5 separate regions of the Homo sapiens genome follow, and all the other regions are linked to region 2. Evidence: promoter capture Hi-C in human tissues and cell types (Jung and others, 2019). All regions are on one chromosome and are shown on one strand. Each heading gives the region's core, a stretch centred on a gene start or on the middle of the fragment in contact. The rest is flanking DNA. Distances are from core to core; before and after follow the strand shown.

Evidence for each region. Contacts are between HindIII fragments. The study calls those that stand out against the background at their distance.
Region 1: the fragment with the promoter of ENHO here is called in contact with the fragment with the promoter of UBE2R2 in region 2 in 2 of the 25 tissues and cell types used here (dorsolateral prefrontal cortex and lymphoblastoid cells).
Region 3: the fragment with the promoter of ARID3C here is called in contact with the fragment with the promoter of UBE2R2 in region 2 in 1 of the 25 tissues and cell types used here (lymphoblastoid cells).
Region 4: the fragment with the promoter of FAM219A here is called in contact with the fragment with the promoter of UBE2R2 in region 2 in 1 of the 25 tissues and cell types used here (dorsolateral prefrontal cortex).
Region 5: a contact is called between the fragment with the promoter of GALT here and the fragment with the promoter of UBE2R2 in region 2, in 1 of the 25 tissues and cell types used here (dorsolateral prefrontal cortex).

The regions. Positions count from the first base shown.
Region 1 is chr9:34,521,623-34,524,322 of GRCh38, forward strand. It overlaps ENHO (energy homeostasis associated), which reads right to left and starts at 1,368. Exons shown (of 2, transcript NM_198573.3): 1 at 1,155-1,368; 2 at 1-234. The coding sequence starts at 73. RefSeq lists an enhancer at 112-664 and silencers at 1,294-1,403, 1,424-1,793. The HindIII fragment of the contact is 6,325 bases long and covers 1-2,700 here.
Region 2 is chr9:33,815,735-33,818,434 of GRCh38, forward strand. It overlaps UBE2R2 (ubiquitin conjugating enzyme E2 R2), which reads left to right and starts at 1,426. Exons shown (of 5, transcript NM_017811.4): 1 at 1,426-2,200. The coding sequence starts at 2,024. All of the region lies in intron 1 of UBE2R2-AS1 (UBE2R2 antisense RNA 1), which reads right to left. RefSeq lists an enhancer at 936-1,025 and silencers at 1,316-1,415, 1,596-1,805, 1,876-2,045. The HindIII fragment of the contact is 14,786 bases long and covers 1-2,700 here.
Region 3 is chr9:34,627,780-34,630,479 of GRCh38, forward strand. ARID3C (AT-rich interaction domain 3C) reads right to left here and starts at 1,287. Exons shown (of 8, transcript NM_001017363.4): 1 at 1,138-1,287; 2 at 1-307. The coding sequence starts at 235. RefSeq lists silencers at 1,096-1,195, 1,246-1,405. The HindIII fragment of the contact is 10,650 bases long and covers 1-2,700 here.
Region 4 is chr9:34,457,141-34,459,840 of GRCh38, forward strand. It overlaps FAM219A (family with sequence similarity 219 member A), which reads right to left and starts at 1,430. Exons shown (of 6, transcript NM_001184940.2): 1 at 1,064-1,430. The coding sequence starts at 1,123. It overlaps DNAI1 (dynein axonemal intermediate chain 1), which reads left to right and starts at 1,665. Exons shown (of 20, transcript NM_012144.4): 1 at 1,665-1,913. The coding sequence starts at 1,866. RefSeq lists enhancers at 1-96, 1,228-1,768, 1,331-1,625, 1,722-1,791 and a silencer at 1,102-1,351. The HindIII fragment of the contact is 10,660 bases long and covers 1-2,700 here.
Region 5 is chr9:34,645,225-34,647,924 of GRCh38, forward strand. It overlaps GALT (galactose-1-phosphate uridylyltransferase), which reads left to right and starts at 1,451. Exons shown (of 11, transcript NM_000155.4): 1 at 1,451-1,562; 2 at 1,865-2,034; 3 at 2,268-2,343; 4 at 2,433-2,481; 5 at 2,608-2,700. The coding sequence starts at 1,481. RefSeq lists enhancers at 1,196-1,305, 1,876-2,055. The HindIII fragment of the contact is 1,689 bases long and covers 198-1,886 here.

The DNA of each region.
Region 1 (2,700 bases), core at 118-2,617, 710 kb after region 2:
GCAGCAGCAAGAAGCCCACGAGACCGTTGCAGACGATGGCGATGAGGGCCCCCTGGGAGATGGCTGCCCCCATGACAGGCAGCACCCTCAGACCAGCACAGACAGTGGAGCTGCCTCAATGGTGAGGCCCATGCCGAGGCAGGACTCTGGTATGGCCGGCCTTCAGAGGAGGCTGTGCTGTCTGCACGCTCAGTGATTCCTGGGCAGTGGAGATGTCTACCTGCAGTCCTGAGCCTGTTGGGGGTATACAGTAAAGGAGAGGGTGGTGAGGAGGAAGGGTGGGGTGAGGCCTAGGAGGAGAGAGGTAGGGAAGAGAGCCTCCCTCCCACATTTCTGGCCTCCCTGGTGAAAGACCTTGGGTCCCAACAGGCTCGAATACCCCACAGAGCCATCACCCCCATCCACAGGCTTGGTTCTGGCCACCTGAATGAGTGTGTAGCCACCGTGGGGAAGCTGCAGTAGGCAGCCGTCATCTCATTCTCCTTAGACCTGGTGGGCATGCCCTGGTCCTGCCCACCAAGCTTGCAGCCCTCAAAAGCCCTCTGTTGGTGGGTGGGATCCAGGAAGCCCCCAGCCCAAAAGGATGGGGGTTGTAAGCAGCTCTGGTGTGGCCTGGGCGCCTCCTCTCTCCCAGGACTCCAGCCAGCCCGACCAGGAGACCTCCAGAGGCGCCAGCTTGCACAGAGGGAACTTTGTGGAGGCCCTGGCAGGCATGTGCAGGCTCTGTGCGTCCAGGGCTGTGTGCCTCTATGTGGGGCTGCCTCTCTGGGTCAGGTGTGTGTGTGTGTCTGGTGTCTCACTGTCCCTCCGTTGGATGTGTGCCTGTGCCTCTGCACACCCACCTCTGTGTGTGTGGCTGCCTCTCCGTGTGTCCCCATCTCTGAGTATGTCTCCTCTATGTCTCATTTCTCTACCAGTGTGTCTCTGTGTATCTCTGCATCAGTCTCTGTGTCTCTCTCTCTCTTCCAGGCTGTATCCCCCTCTGTTCCCATGGACGTGTCCCTATCCCCTTCTCCGTGGGGTCTTTTCGGTGGTTCCTGTGTCTCTGTCTTTGTGTTCGTCTCTCTCCGCGGCAGTGTGTCTCTGTCTCTTTATCTCCATCTTCGGGTCGCGTGTTCTTGGCCCCCGTGCCCGTGGCGGGAGGCCCTTCTTACCTGAGTTGAGCCTGGTGCGCGCCCGCGGGAGGGTCCGGGGCAGCGGGATGCTCGGCGCCGACTAAGGCTTGGGAGCCTGCGGGCGGGGGGCGGCGGGAGGTGGGAGACCAGCAGAGGCGACGTCCGCTCCCCCGGCCCTCCCCCTCGGCCGCGCAGCCTCCACCGGCCGCTCCCGCCGCGGCGCGACCGGGGCGGCCTCTGCCGCGGGCGGTCTGCGGTGAGCGGGCACCTCCTCCCCTTGGGGCCGCACCTCCTCCGCGGCCGCGGCGCTCGCTCGCTCGGCAGCGCTCGGGCGGCGGCGGCGGGAGCTGCGCGGTGTTCGGCTGGGCTCGGCTGCGTTCGGTTGGGCTCGGCTGGGCTCGGCTACGTTCGGCTGGGCTCGGCCGGGCTCGGCGGCCAGCAAAAACAGCGAAGAGCCTCGCCTCCTGGGAGGCCGGCGGCCTGCGGCCCGGGGGCGGAGCCATCCCAGCGCCGCTGCCGCCACTCAATTGGCTGGCCGAACCCCGGTTCCCGCACCATTGGTGGTGCGCTGAGGTGGGGACCAGCCCGCCTCTCGTGCCGGCGCGGGGCGGGAGGAGGGCCGAAGGAGTAGCTGGCCCTGGATCCTTCCCGGGAGAGGGGATGGGGTGGGGGCAAGGCCTAACCTCTGGTAGGGATTTCTTGCACCTTCTACACCTGGAAGGGTTGTACACCCCACATCCGAGAAAGGCCAAGGCCTCTGCATTTCCACATGTGAGGAAACCACCCCTCTGTATCTGGGAGAGGTCTCTTAAGTAAGTCATCCGGAGGAAGGCCCCGCGTCCCCACACCTGGCAGGAGACTGAATCTCCTCACCTAGGGAACCGCCTATAGTGCAGTCCCGCACTTCCCTCTGCCACCTGGGTGTGGACTCTGCATTCCCACTTTAGAGGGCCCCAGGTTCCCTGGCCCTAAGAGGTGTGAAAATCTCTGGCAACACAGGTTCTTTGGACACATTTACTGAGTTCCTACCCAGTGTTGGTCGCAGGCTTGCTGCCAGGCTGTTGGGGAGTCTGGGACAGAAATGGAGTGTCCTGAGCGATGGTTCTGCCCTGGCTGGAATAGGTGCAGGCGTGGTGGAAATCCTGCCTTGCCATCCTAAAAGCTCCCCTAAGAAGAAGATAGCTTGGACAGGAGCAGTGAGGTAGACCTTGTCCTCCCCGACCTTCACAGGCCAGTGATTGTCACCTATTCTGATCCGGCCGTCTTCTCATCCCGCTCTACATGCTCTCCTTGGAGGATCACATCCCTGAAGCTATATCATGAAGACTCCCAGTGCTCCCAAGTCTAGCCTTAACTTCTCTCTGGAATCCTAGACTCATATAACTAAGTGCCTACTGTAATCGGGGCAGTATTGATTCCTGGTTCACTTACTAACTTTGTGATCTTGAGCAAGTTACTAAATCTCTCTTAGCCTCAGCTTCCTCATCTGTAAAATGGTTGTAATGCTACCTCTCAGGGTTGTTATTCACTAATTTATAGCAGATCGATCACATCTCAGCAAATGCCAGCTGACACAACCCCCAGG
Region 2 (2,700 bases), core at 176-2,675:
CCCTGTCTCAATAAAAGGGGTGGGTAGTGGTGGTATCCAGAATACAGCTATGCCTTAAAGTTTTTTTCTTTCAAGTTTCTATGAATCATTAACCATGTGCCAGTCACTACGCTAAATGCTGTACATACATTTAATCATTACAATTGCTTGTGTTGGGTATAATTAATCCCCTTTTACAGAAGCTGATTAAACAGCCGGGTGTGGAGGCATGCACCTGTAGTCCTAGCTACTTGGGAGGCTGAGGTGGGAGAATCGCTTGAACCTGGGAGGCGGAGGTTGCAGTGGGCCATGATCGCGCCACTGTGCTACAGCCTGGGTGACAGAGCAAGACCCTGTCTCAAACAAAACAAAACCAAAAAACAAAAAACTGATGATACAGGGAGAAGTAATGGAACTAGGGTTGGAACCAAGATCTGTCTAGTTCCGAAACTGTGTGTGTAGAACTCTCACAATATTCTGGCTTTTCTAGGAAATGTTTTTTAGGCAGTTATCCTAGGACATGCCTTCCTAGGAGAAAGGAGTACTGTATTCTGAACCACGGGGGGACCAAAGACTGTCCCCACATCTCACTTCGGTTATGATTATCTCGAAAGTCCCTCAGTTCCAGGGTGGACATTCAAGCCACAAGCACCTATAGGGAACTTTGACCCCTAAGTTCAACCACAGTAGTTTATTTTACAAATGGCGAAGGCGAAGGGCAGCCTGAGCACTTGCCCCAAATCACAATGAGAAGGGCTAGAGACCCAGTTTGTTATTGTCTTTTTCCTCACAACTTCCTCTTTGTAGTTAAGAAGGGAAGCAGAAGCTGACCTTTTTGTCTCACCCCGTTTCTCACGTGGAACTGCCGCACCCAGGGTGAGTAACGTGCCAAAGGGCACACTTGCCTGTGGGCTGGCCTGCGGGAAGGTCTGTTCCCACCGAAAAGACCCACATTGTCAGCACATCCTAATCAAGTAGCTACTAAGTGGAGGGACCGCAGACTGGGTGTCACGGGGAGGGGCCTGCAGCGACCAGGCCCGTCCCAGGATGGCTGCGGAGGCCCCTGGATCCACAGTGGGGAGGGCCCCGAGAGCCGGGAGACCTGGGTTCCCTTCCCGGGCACGCCTTTGGAACTGCGGCGTCCAGCCGCACAACCGTCACTCTGGGGCCACGGCAATCCCTGCGCCCGCCCTTGGTCCCCGCTGCTTCTGGGATCTTTATGGGCGGGGGACACGCGCCAGCGTCACAAAGCGCCGCGACCGCGCGGGAGACCGAGAGGAGGCGTGGAAACGGGAGGAGGAGGAGGTGGTAGTGGAGGAGAGCCAGGCACGGTGGGGGGAGGGGAGGGAGGGGCACGCGCACGCGCGTCGGGCCGCCAGCCGCTGAGAGCCGCCCAGCACCCGGCGTGCGCCCCTCCTCCCTCTCTCCCTCCCTCCCTCCCTCCCTGCTTCTCGGCTCCGTTGCTCCCGCGGCGCGAGGCGCTCTCGCTCTCCTCCTCCTCCGCCGTCGCCCCTCCCCCCGCGCAGCCCCCGCCGCCACCGCCGCGAGACCCCCGCACGCCGCTCTCCCCCCACCCTCTCCTGCCCCGCGCGCCCTCCGGCCCCTGCGGCCCCCGAAGAGAACGAGAGGGCGAGCGAGCGCGGCGTTCCCGGGCCGGCCCGGCCCCCTCCCTTCACCATCGCCGGCCCTCCGCCGCCTTCCTCCGCTTCCACCTCCTCTCCCCCCCCCCAAGTTGAGGCCCCCTCCGGGGGGGGGAGGCCCGGGACCGGGACCCGTAGCGAATTCTCCTAACTCCCTCGACCTCTCCTCTCGCCCGGCCCGAGTGTGAGGAGAAGGGCCCGGCCCGGCCTGCGTCGTGTGTGAGGAGGACCCCGGGCGGGCCCACGGGCCGTGTGGGGCCTGGTCTGGCCCGCCGGGTGTGTGAAGACCGGGGCCCGGTGCTGCCCGGCCGGAGGGCGAGCGGAGGGGAGGGGCCTGGTCCGGCCCGGCCGGTGCGTGAGGACTGGGGCCCGGGCCCGGCGCCGCCGCCGCCGCCGCCGCCGCGATGGCCCAGCAGCAGATGACCAGCTCGCAGAAGGCCCTGATGCTCGAGCTGAAATCCCTGCAGGAGGAACCGGTGGAGGGCTTCCGGATCACCCTGGTGGACGAGTCCGACCTCTACAACTGGGAGGTGGCCATCTTCGGACCCCCCAACACCCTCTACGAAGGCGGCTACTTCAAGGTACCCTCACCCTCCTCCCGGACCCTGCTTCCGCGGCCGAGGCCTCCGGCTCCCCGCCGCTTTCTGCAGTTCCTGGGACCAGGAGTATGAGCACGGGCGAGTGGAGGGGGCTTCTCACCCGTGCAGCCCCCTCCCCCATCCCTGGAGGCAGGAAGGCCTTGCTCGCCGAGTGCCTTTTCTTTGTCATGGGGGCGGGGGCTCGGGCGGGGGCGGGAGGGCAGGCTGCACCGGGAAATCGGAGAGCCTCTCTGGTTAGGGTAGTGTCTACGGGCGGAGGAGGCCGCCTTTGTTTCCCCCGCTGAGGGTGGGTGGAAAGAGCGGTGGTCTATCTGTGCTTTTTCGTTCTCCGGTCGGAACCCCTCCCTGCGCAGGCTGGAACTGCCCCAGAGGGCAGGGTGACCTGCACCGACTGGATTGGACTTTTCTTTTTTGGGGGGTGGGGGTGGGGGTGGGGTGGGGGAGGGGCACCAGCTTGTCATTTCAGAAGCTGCCGAGTGCCC
Region 3 (2,700 bases), core at 37-2,536, 810 kb after region 2:
CTGGACGGCTCTCCTCAGCTGCCTCCTCCTCTGCCCCGGCTTCCTCCCGCTTCTCCTCATCTTCTTCAGCATCTTCCTCTTCCTCAGCCCCAACATTCCCCAAGGCCCCCTCAGGGGCCTGTAGGGTCCGGTGGTCAGGCAGGGGAGGCTGCGGTGGCAGCAGCGGGCATGCAGGGGCCAATGGCCCCACCCCCTGGGCCAGCCGAGCTGCCTGCTGCTTCTGCAGGGCCTCCATGACAGCTTCCAGGCGCAGTCCCCCAGCTGAGGGGGTCCCTGGTACCAGGCGGGACCCCGAGGAAAGGGCCGCCTGTGGGGGAGGGAATTATGGGTGCTGGGCCCTACTGCCCCCAGAGCCCCCCAACACAGGGGGAGGTGGTCATGGATTCAGGGAAGTGCAGGGGTCACAAGGAAAGAGGCAGAAAGATGGCTTTCCCAGAGGTGAACAGAAACAGGACCAGACCCGGGGAATCAAATGGCCATTGACTGAGGACTGGAAGAGTGAGCAGATCAGAGAGGGTGACGGGGACCAAGAGACATCGGGAAATGGTGAAGGAAGGGAGAGAGAAAGAAAAGGAGAAGGGGGATGTCCGACAGAGACAATGACAGGGAGATGTGAAAATAGAGATGGAACAGGGTGACAAGGAGAGACAGAAGTGGGGTGACACAGAGACTGAGAGGGACCAAGATGGAGAGAGGCAGAGGTATCAGGCAGAGACAGGGTAGACAGACAGAGATGGAGAGAGATAGAATATTGGGTAGAGAGACAGGGAGGGTAAGAGAGGTAGAGGAGCAACAGATAAAAGACCTAAGTGACAGGTAGCTCAGAGACGGACAGAGACGGAGAGACAGAGGCGGAGATAGACAAATAGACAGGGGTTGAGATATAGGGAAAGACCAAGACAGCAGGAAACGGACAGAAGAGAGAGATTAGAAAGAGACAGTTAAATAGAGAGGGACCGACAGAGACAGGGACGGGAAAAACAGCCGGAGAGAGGGGCAGAGGACAGGGACCAAGGAGTCGCGGGGATGGAGGGCGGTGGGGCAGAGCCTGGGACGGGCACGGGACCGGACGGGCAGGAGGCGGCAGAGTCGCGACGCCCGGCTCCCTCGCTCCGGGCGCCCCGCGGCCGCACTCACCTGCCTGGCGTGGCCCGCTGCCCCTGGCGTCTCCACGGCGCTGCCTTTGCTCCGCCCGCCTCCCAGGCGGCCCTGGCCTCGGCTGGGTCCCGGCGGTGCGCTCCCGCCGCCCTGTGCTCCTCTGGCGGCTGTGCGCTCACTCGCCGCGCTGCTTGCGGCGGCCGCGGGGGCGGGACCCGAGCGGGGCAGGGCGGGCGGGGCGCATGGGGAGAGGCCCCTGTGGGATCTGCCGCTCTCAGCTCCCCAACAGGTGTCTCCCACCTTCTTTCCAGCCAGCTTCGGGGGCAGGGGGCGCTGGAAAGCTGCGGGGGAATCGTGCGAAAATGAGGGCTCTACCGCCACCGGACTCCGGACCAGAGCCCCGCCCAGCCTCACAAGTCGTGCCCCCGACACCCACACTCGGCACTGGGCTTCCACATACAAATAGCCGCATCCACACACCAACACACCTTGTCACAAGTTCAGGCGCATAGCTTCCCAGTCTCACACGTTCCGTGACATGGTCACCACAGTGCCAATGGCCTGGGCACGCTGTGATCAAGAGGGGAATCCCTCTGCAAGATGCTGGGGTGTGCGTGGAGGGTCTGGTCAGAATAGAAGCTTCTCCCTTTGCCTTGAGCACCCCTGCCCTGCCTACGTGCTGTCCCCCACTGCGGGCATGCTGCGGTTTGCACACATGAGTGCACATGGTGGTGGACCCACACCTATGCACTCACACACTCTCAGAGGTCTTTAAGCTGACTGCACACTCACCGCATGCAGATACACAGCCACACACAGTTTTTGTCTCTTTTGACATTCTATTATGGAAATTTTCTTTTCTTTTCTTTTTCTTTCTTTTCTTTTTTTTCTTTTTTGGAGACAGAGTCTCTGTCACCCAGGCTGGAGTGCAGTGGCGCGATCTGGGCTCACTGCAGCCTCCGCCTCCCAGGTTCAAGTGATTCTACTGCCTCAGCCTCCCGAATAGCTGGAATTAGCTGGGATTACAGGCGTCCACCACCAGACCCGGCTAATTTTTGTCTTTTTAGTAGAGATGGGGTTTCACCATTTTGGCTAGGCTGGTCTCGAACTCCTGACCTCAAGTGATCCACCCACCCTGGCCACCCACAGTGCTGGGATTACAGGCATGAGCTACCGTACCCAGCCTGTATTATGAAAATTTTGAAACATAGACAAGTGAATAGTATAATGAACCTCTGGTACTCATCATAGGTTTGTTTCAACAGTGACCGGCACTTCGCCCATGTTCACACACATTCTCCACCTATGTGTGCCTGACTGCCACATCTGTATCTCCAGACCCCCTCAGCCCACTGCTTTGCGCCCTCCCCCTAACTATTCCCAAGACGCTGAAATGCTGTTCCTTATTTGGGGGTTCTGAGTGGCAGGCCTCTCAGAATTTCTGCTCTGAACAGCCTGGACCCCACTCCTCCCGGGAATCCTCATACTTCCTATTTCTTCCTGTGCCCAAGGGGACCACTTACCAAACAGAGGGACACTGTGAGGTGATGCCAAGTGTGTAAGTGAACAGCAGGTGTCTGTAGGGGTGACACTTGGCATAGG
Region 4 (2,700 bases), core at 180-2,679, 640 kb after region 2:
GCCCACCTTGCCTCCTTCCAATTCCAGCTCAGGCTCCAGGGGGATAAAGCGAACACAGCCTAGACATTCCCTCTCTTCCCCCCTCACTATACGAGCTGGCTAGGCCTCCACGTCTCCCACCCGGTTGCCTGACAGACAAGCGAGGTCAGGGAGCCCCCTGGGCGGTGGCCAGCAAGCATGGTCTCCCTTAGGCCTAGCCTCGGTGCACCCGAGTTGCCCTCCCCCTTCCATTCCCTCCGCGCCAGCAGCGATGACATCATTCCTCCCTGACTCCGGGACCGCGGACAGGCGGCAGGATCCGCGCCCAGCAAGGACTTCAGGCACGTAGGCCTAAGATGATGGGGGCTCTTCCCAACCAGTGCGCACAGGCAGCTCCAGCGCGACCCCACTTCCTCTCCCGTCGGTTCCCGAGCACTCTCATCTGCACCCCGATTCCCCATCTGGTCGCCGCGCACTCTCCTTCCCGGTTTAGATGCCCCCAGCCTGGTCTGCCTGCGCTCCCCACCGGAGAACGGAATTCCCAGGTTCTGCACCAACCACCTTCCCCCACTGGGTCCCTCGCCCCGGCCCAGCGTTCCTGTCCGTATATCCAGCGGACAGGCGGGCAAGCCCCTCCTCTTCTAAAAGCTGATTCCCAATCTCTCTTAGCCTGACGGCTCCCCCGCCCTAAGCATCACAGGCCTCTAGGACTAAACGCCTCCCCACCTCCCATCCCAGACCCCTGGGCCTGCCGCCGGCGGTGCCCCATGGCAGTTCCCTCGCCAGTCCCTGCTATGGGCCTCCACTAGCGGTGTGCACCTTTGTGCCCCCTCCGTTCCATCCGACGGTGCCCTGCTTCCACCGACGGTGCCCTCCGCCCTTACAGGTCCCTTTGCTCTCATCCAGCATATTCTCCCACGGTTTTCTTGTCCTGCAAGTCCCCGTCCCCCGGCAATACGTTTTCAGGGATCTCTTTGCCCCATCCGATGGCGCCCCTCCGCACGATCCCCCCGGCCTGATTCCCTCCCTCCCCCTCAAGCGACGCCCCCTCCGGCCTTGGCCTGCCCGCCGCCCGCCCCCTCACCAGCGGCTGCATCTCCGAGTGCGCGGTGGGCACCTGGAACCGGTCGATCTCCTCCATCATGGTGCCGGCGGGCGAGCGGGCCAGGGGCCGGGCGCGGCCGCGGACGCCGACAGGACCGCGCGGGGCGGCGGCCCCAGGAGCCCGGCGGGTGGTGCAGACTAGGCCTCCCCGGACCACTCGGGCGGGCAGGGGCCGGGCGGATGCAGGGGTGGGCGGGGGCGAGAGGTTCGCAGACTGGCTGAGGCCGGCGTGACTCCGTGGGCTTGCCTAGCACTACCGCGGCTGTGGCCGGGCCGAGCCGCAGGTCTTGCCTCGCCTCCTACTCCGCTGCCGCCTCCTGTCAGCAGCTCAGCCACTGCGGTGACTCGGCAACTCCACTTCCGGGTCCGGGACACCGCCCGGATCTTGCATTATTCATGAGGAGGCGGTGCCTGGGGACCCCAGCCCCACCCACATGCGGGAGTTCCGAATGCGCGCGGCCGCCCAGCTGTGATTCCTGAGGGGGCGGGGCTTAGTGGAGACTCGCTCGCCGCGCGCCCAACCCCGCCTCCTTTCCGGGCCGGCTGGGCGCGCCGAAGCGCCTGCGCCTTGGCTGCTGGTCGGTTGCTGGGTAACCGCGTCAGGGAGTTGGATTCTATCCTGCAAGGGCACGGGGACCCACAACGACGGCTGTCCCTAAAGAACCGTTGCGACTGGTAACTGAAGTGGAAGAGAGTCCAGATTTCTTGTGTGTGGTCAAGGAGACGGACAAACTTTTTGTCTTCAGACGAGGGAGCGTTTTGTAGGCTCTCCAGGGGTTGAGATGATTCCTGCTTCTGCGAAGGCTCCCCATAAACAGCCTCATAAGCAGGTAACGTACGCACACCTTCCTTCTGATGACCTCTGACCTTCGTCGTCGCCAGTGACCACTAATCATACCTCTCCTACTGATCCTTGATCTTTTCTCTGTTGACCCCAGCCTTCTCACCCCCGTGACCTCTGGTAAGTGCTCCCACTGACCTCTGACTCTGTCCTACTCTTTCCCACTAATCCCGGCCTCCTCTCCCATACTACCCCAATCCACCGTTTCTTACCTCTCTCCTTTTATCCACCATTCCCATCTCTTCACTTCACTTTACCCCATGGACTCATTCTGACCAGTCTATTCTCCTTAACTTCCCCATCCCCATTCCCACGAGTCCCTTCCTCCTTGTTCTCACATTCTTGTCCCAAAGGAATTTTTCTTTTTCTTTTTCTTTCTTTCTTTCTTTTTTTTTTTTTGAGACAGAGGCTCGCCCTGTAGCCCAGGCTAGAATGCAGTGGCGCCATCTCAGCTCTCTGTAACCTCTGCCTCCTGGGTGCAAGCGATTCTCCCACTTCAGCCTGACGAATAGCTGGAACCAAAGGCATAGGCCACCACGCCCGGCTAAATTTTGTGTTTTTGGTAGAGACGGGGTTTCCCCATGTTGCCCAGGCCCGTCTCTAACTCCTGAGCTCAAGCGATCCTCCTACCTTGACCTTCCGAAGTGCTGGGATTACAGGCGTGAGCCACGGCGCCCAGCCTCAAAGGCATTCTTTATCCAACCCTTTGCTGTGTGCCTAGCTCCAGGCTAGGTGGGAACACAGCTCTTGCTGTTTGGGAGCCCACAGAGGGTGTG
Region 5 (2,700 bases), core at 201-2,700, 830 kb after region 2:
CTTTAAAAGTACTGGGGGCCAGCTGTTTGGGAGGCTGAGGCAGGAGGATCACTTGAAGTCAGGAGTTCAAGACCAGCCTGGCCAACATGTGAAACCCCGTCTCTACTAAAAATACATAAATTAGCCCAGTGTGGTGGCACACAGCTCTAATTCCAGCTACTTGGAGGCTGAGGCAGGAGAATCGCTTGAACCTGGGAGGTGGAGGTTGCAGTGAGCCAAGATCACGCCACTGCACTCCAGCCTGGGTGGCAGAGTGAGACTCTCTCTCAAACAAACAAACAAACAAAAGTACCAGGGGAGGAATTAATTTGAATTTTATCCTAGTGTTAGCCAATTGGTCCCATCCAAGGAAAATTTAGAAAAGGGAAGGGGATGTGTAAAGGAAACACTAGGCCCCACCTAGATGGTGGCTGGAGCTTCTGATAGTCCTGTACTCTCCACATTTTTAGACTTTCTTGTACTTTTTTTTTTTTTTTTGTGACGGAGTCTGCTCTGTCGCCAGGCTAGAGTGCATGGGCACAATCTCGGCTCACTGCAACCTCTGCCTCCTGGGTTCAAGTGATTCTCCTGCCTCAGCCTCCCGAGTAGGTGGGACTACAGGTGCACGCCACCAAGACCAGCTAATTTTTTTTTTTTTTTTTTTTACTAGAGACGGGGTTTCACCATGTTGGCCAGGATGGTCTCAATTTCTTGACCTTGTGATCCGCCTGCCTTGGTCTCCCAAAGTGTTGGGATTACAGGCGTGAGCCACCGAGCCCGGCCATTTTTAGATTTTTTTTTATAGCCCTTTTACCCCTCCCACTTCTTGTGCTGTCTTGGTGTGTGTATGAAAAAGAGAGAGAGAGAGAGAGGAAGGAGAGCAAGAGTGAGAGAAAAAGAGAATATGGTTACTTAGCCCTTTTTCCCAAATCTGTTTTTGCTTTTGGGGATAGGATATGGTTATGGTGAAGTACTCCACACAGACCCCACCAAGTTTGCCTCTCCTGCGCTACAGCCACTGAGCAGGTGACTGAGGCGCTGTTGATCCAGGGTCATATCCTTACTCGCCCTAGAATGTAAGCTCAGGCAGGGCAGAGGCCATGCCTGACATGTGCATCCCAATGCTTTACACAGCCTAGGTGCCTAGCACATGCTAGATGCTTGGTAAATATTTGCTGAATGAAAGATCAAATGAATGATTGCAGCAAGCAAGTCCTGTAGGCATCCTGGAGCCCAAGGATTCTGCAGTAGGCAGCTTTCACAGAGGTTCTTCCAGTGTAGTGGCTCTAGCTCTGGGTGAAGTAGGATCATCAATGTCGGCCCCCAGGGTTCACAGCTGTTCTGAGCCCCGCCCCCAGGTGGCAGGGCAGCCCAGTCAGTCAGTCACGTGCTGGCGGCTGGCCAATCATCGGGGGCGGCGCGGGGAGGGGTGGTGTGGACGGAGAAAGTGAAAGGTGAGGCACGGCCCTGCAGATTTTCCAGCGGATCCCCCGGTGGCCTCATGTCGCGCAGTGGAACCGATCCTCAGCAACGCCAGCAGGCGTCAGAGGCGGACGCCGCAGCAGCAACCTTCCGGGCAAACGGTAACTGCACCGCGGCAGGGACTCGCTGGGGCGCGGAGCCGAGCCCTCCCCTTCCTTAGGAAGCTTTCGTCCCCTCCGAAGGTTGGAACGCTCATCCCGAGCCAGACCGACAAGGCGTACAGTCTGCAGGCCTGTACGAGCAGCAGGCCAATTGGCGCTGGGAAAGTCCAATCCTGGGCCTCTAGCTCCTGAGCGGGACAGGGCCGAGAGGGCGCTCCCGAGCTTGGGCCTGCTGGTGGGTGAGACCCAGGAGAGAGGGAGCTAGAGAGCTCTGAGGACTGATCTTGACTGTCTGCCCCCAGACCATCAGCATATCCGCTACAACCCGCTGCAGGATGAGTGGGTGCTGGTGTCAGCTCACCGCATGAAGCGGCCCTGGCAGGGTCAAGTGGAGCCCCAGCTTCTGAAGACAGTGCCCCGCCATGACCCTCTCAACCCTCTGTGTCCTGGGGCCATCCGAGCCAACGGAGAGGTAAGCCTGTAGAGCCCTGCATCTGCAGGCTGGGCCACGGGGAGTAGTTCCCTCTTAGAACTGTCCTCCACCCACAGGGATAGTGAACCTCCTTCTGGGTCATATCCCACCAAGCTTTTTGGTCCCCTAGGGTGGGCCTTCCCTACTCCCTTGTAGCCTGTCCAGTCTTTGAAGCCCACCAGGTAACTGGTGGTATGGGGCAGTGAGTGCTTCTAGCCTATCCTTGTCGGTAGGTGAATCCCCAGTACGATAGCACCTTCCTGTTTGACAACGACTTCCCAGCTCTGCAGCCTGATGCCCCCAGTCCAGGTAACCTGGCTCCAACTGCTGCTGGGGAGGAGGGTGGCTAGACCTCTTGAGGGACTTCTGCTGCAGAGAGTGATACTCCTTTACCTCAGGACCCAGTGATCATCCCCTTTTCCAAGCAAAGTCTGCTCGAGGAGTCTGGTAACTATGGATTTCCCCTCTTACAACTTTCAAACCAGAGTTGGAGACTCAGCATTGGGGTTCGGCCCTGCCCGTAGCACAGCCAAGCCCTACCTCTCGGTTATCTTTTCTCCCGTCACCACCCAGTAAGGTCATGTGCTTCCACCCCTGGTCGGATGTAACGCTGCCACTCATGTCGGTCCCTGAGATCCGGGCTGTTGTTGATGCATGGGCCTCAGT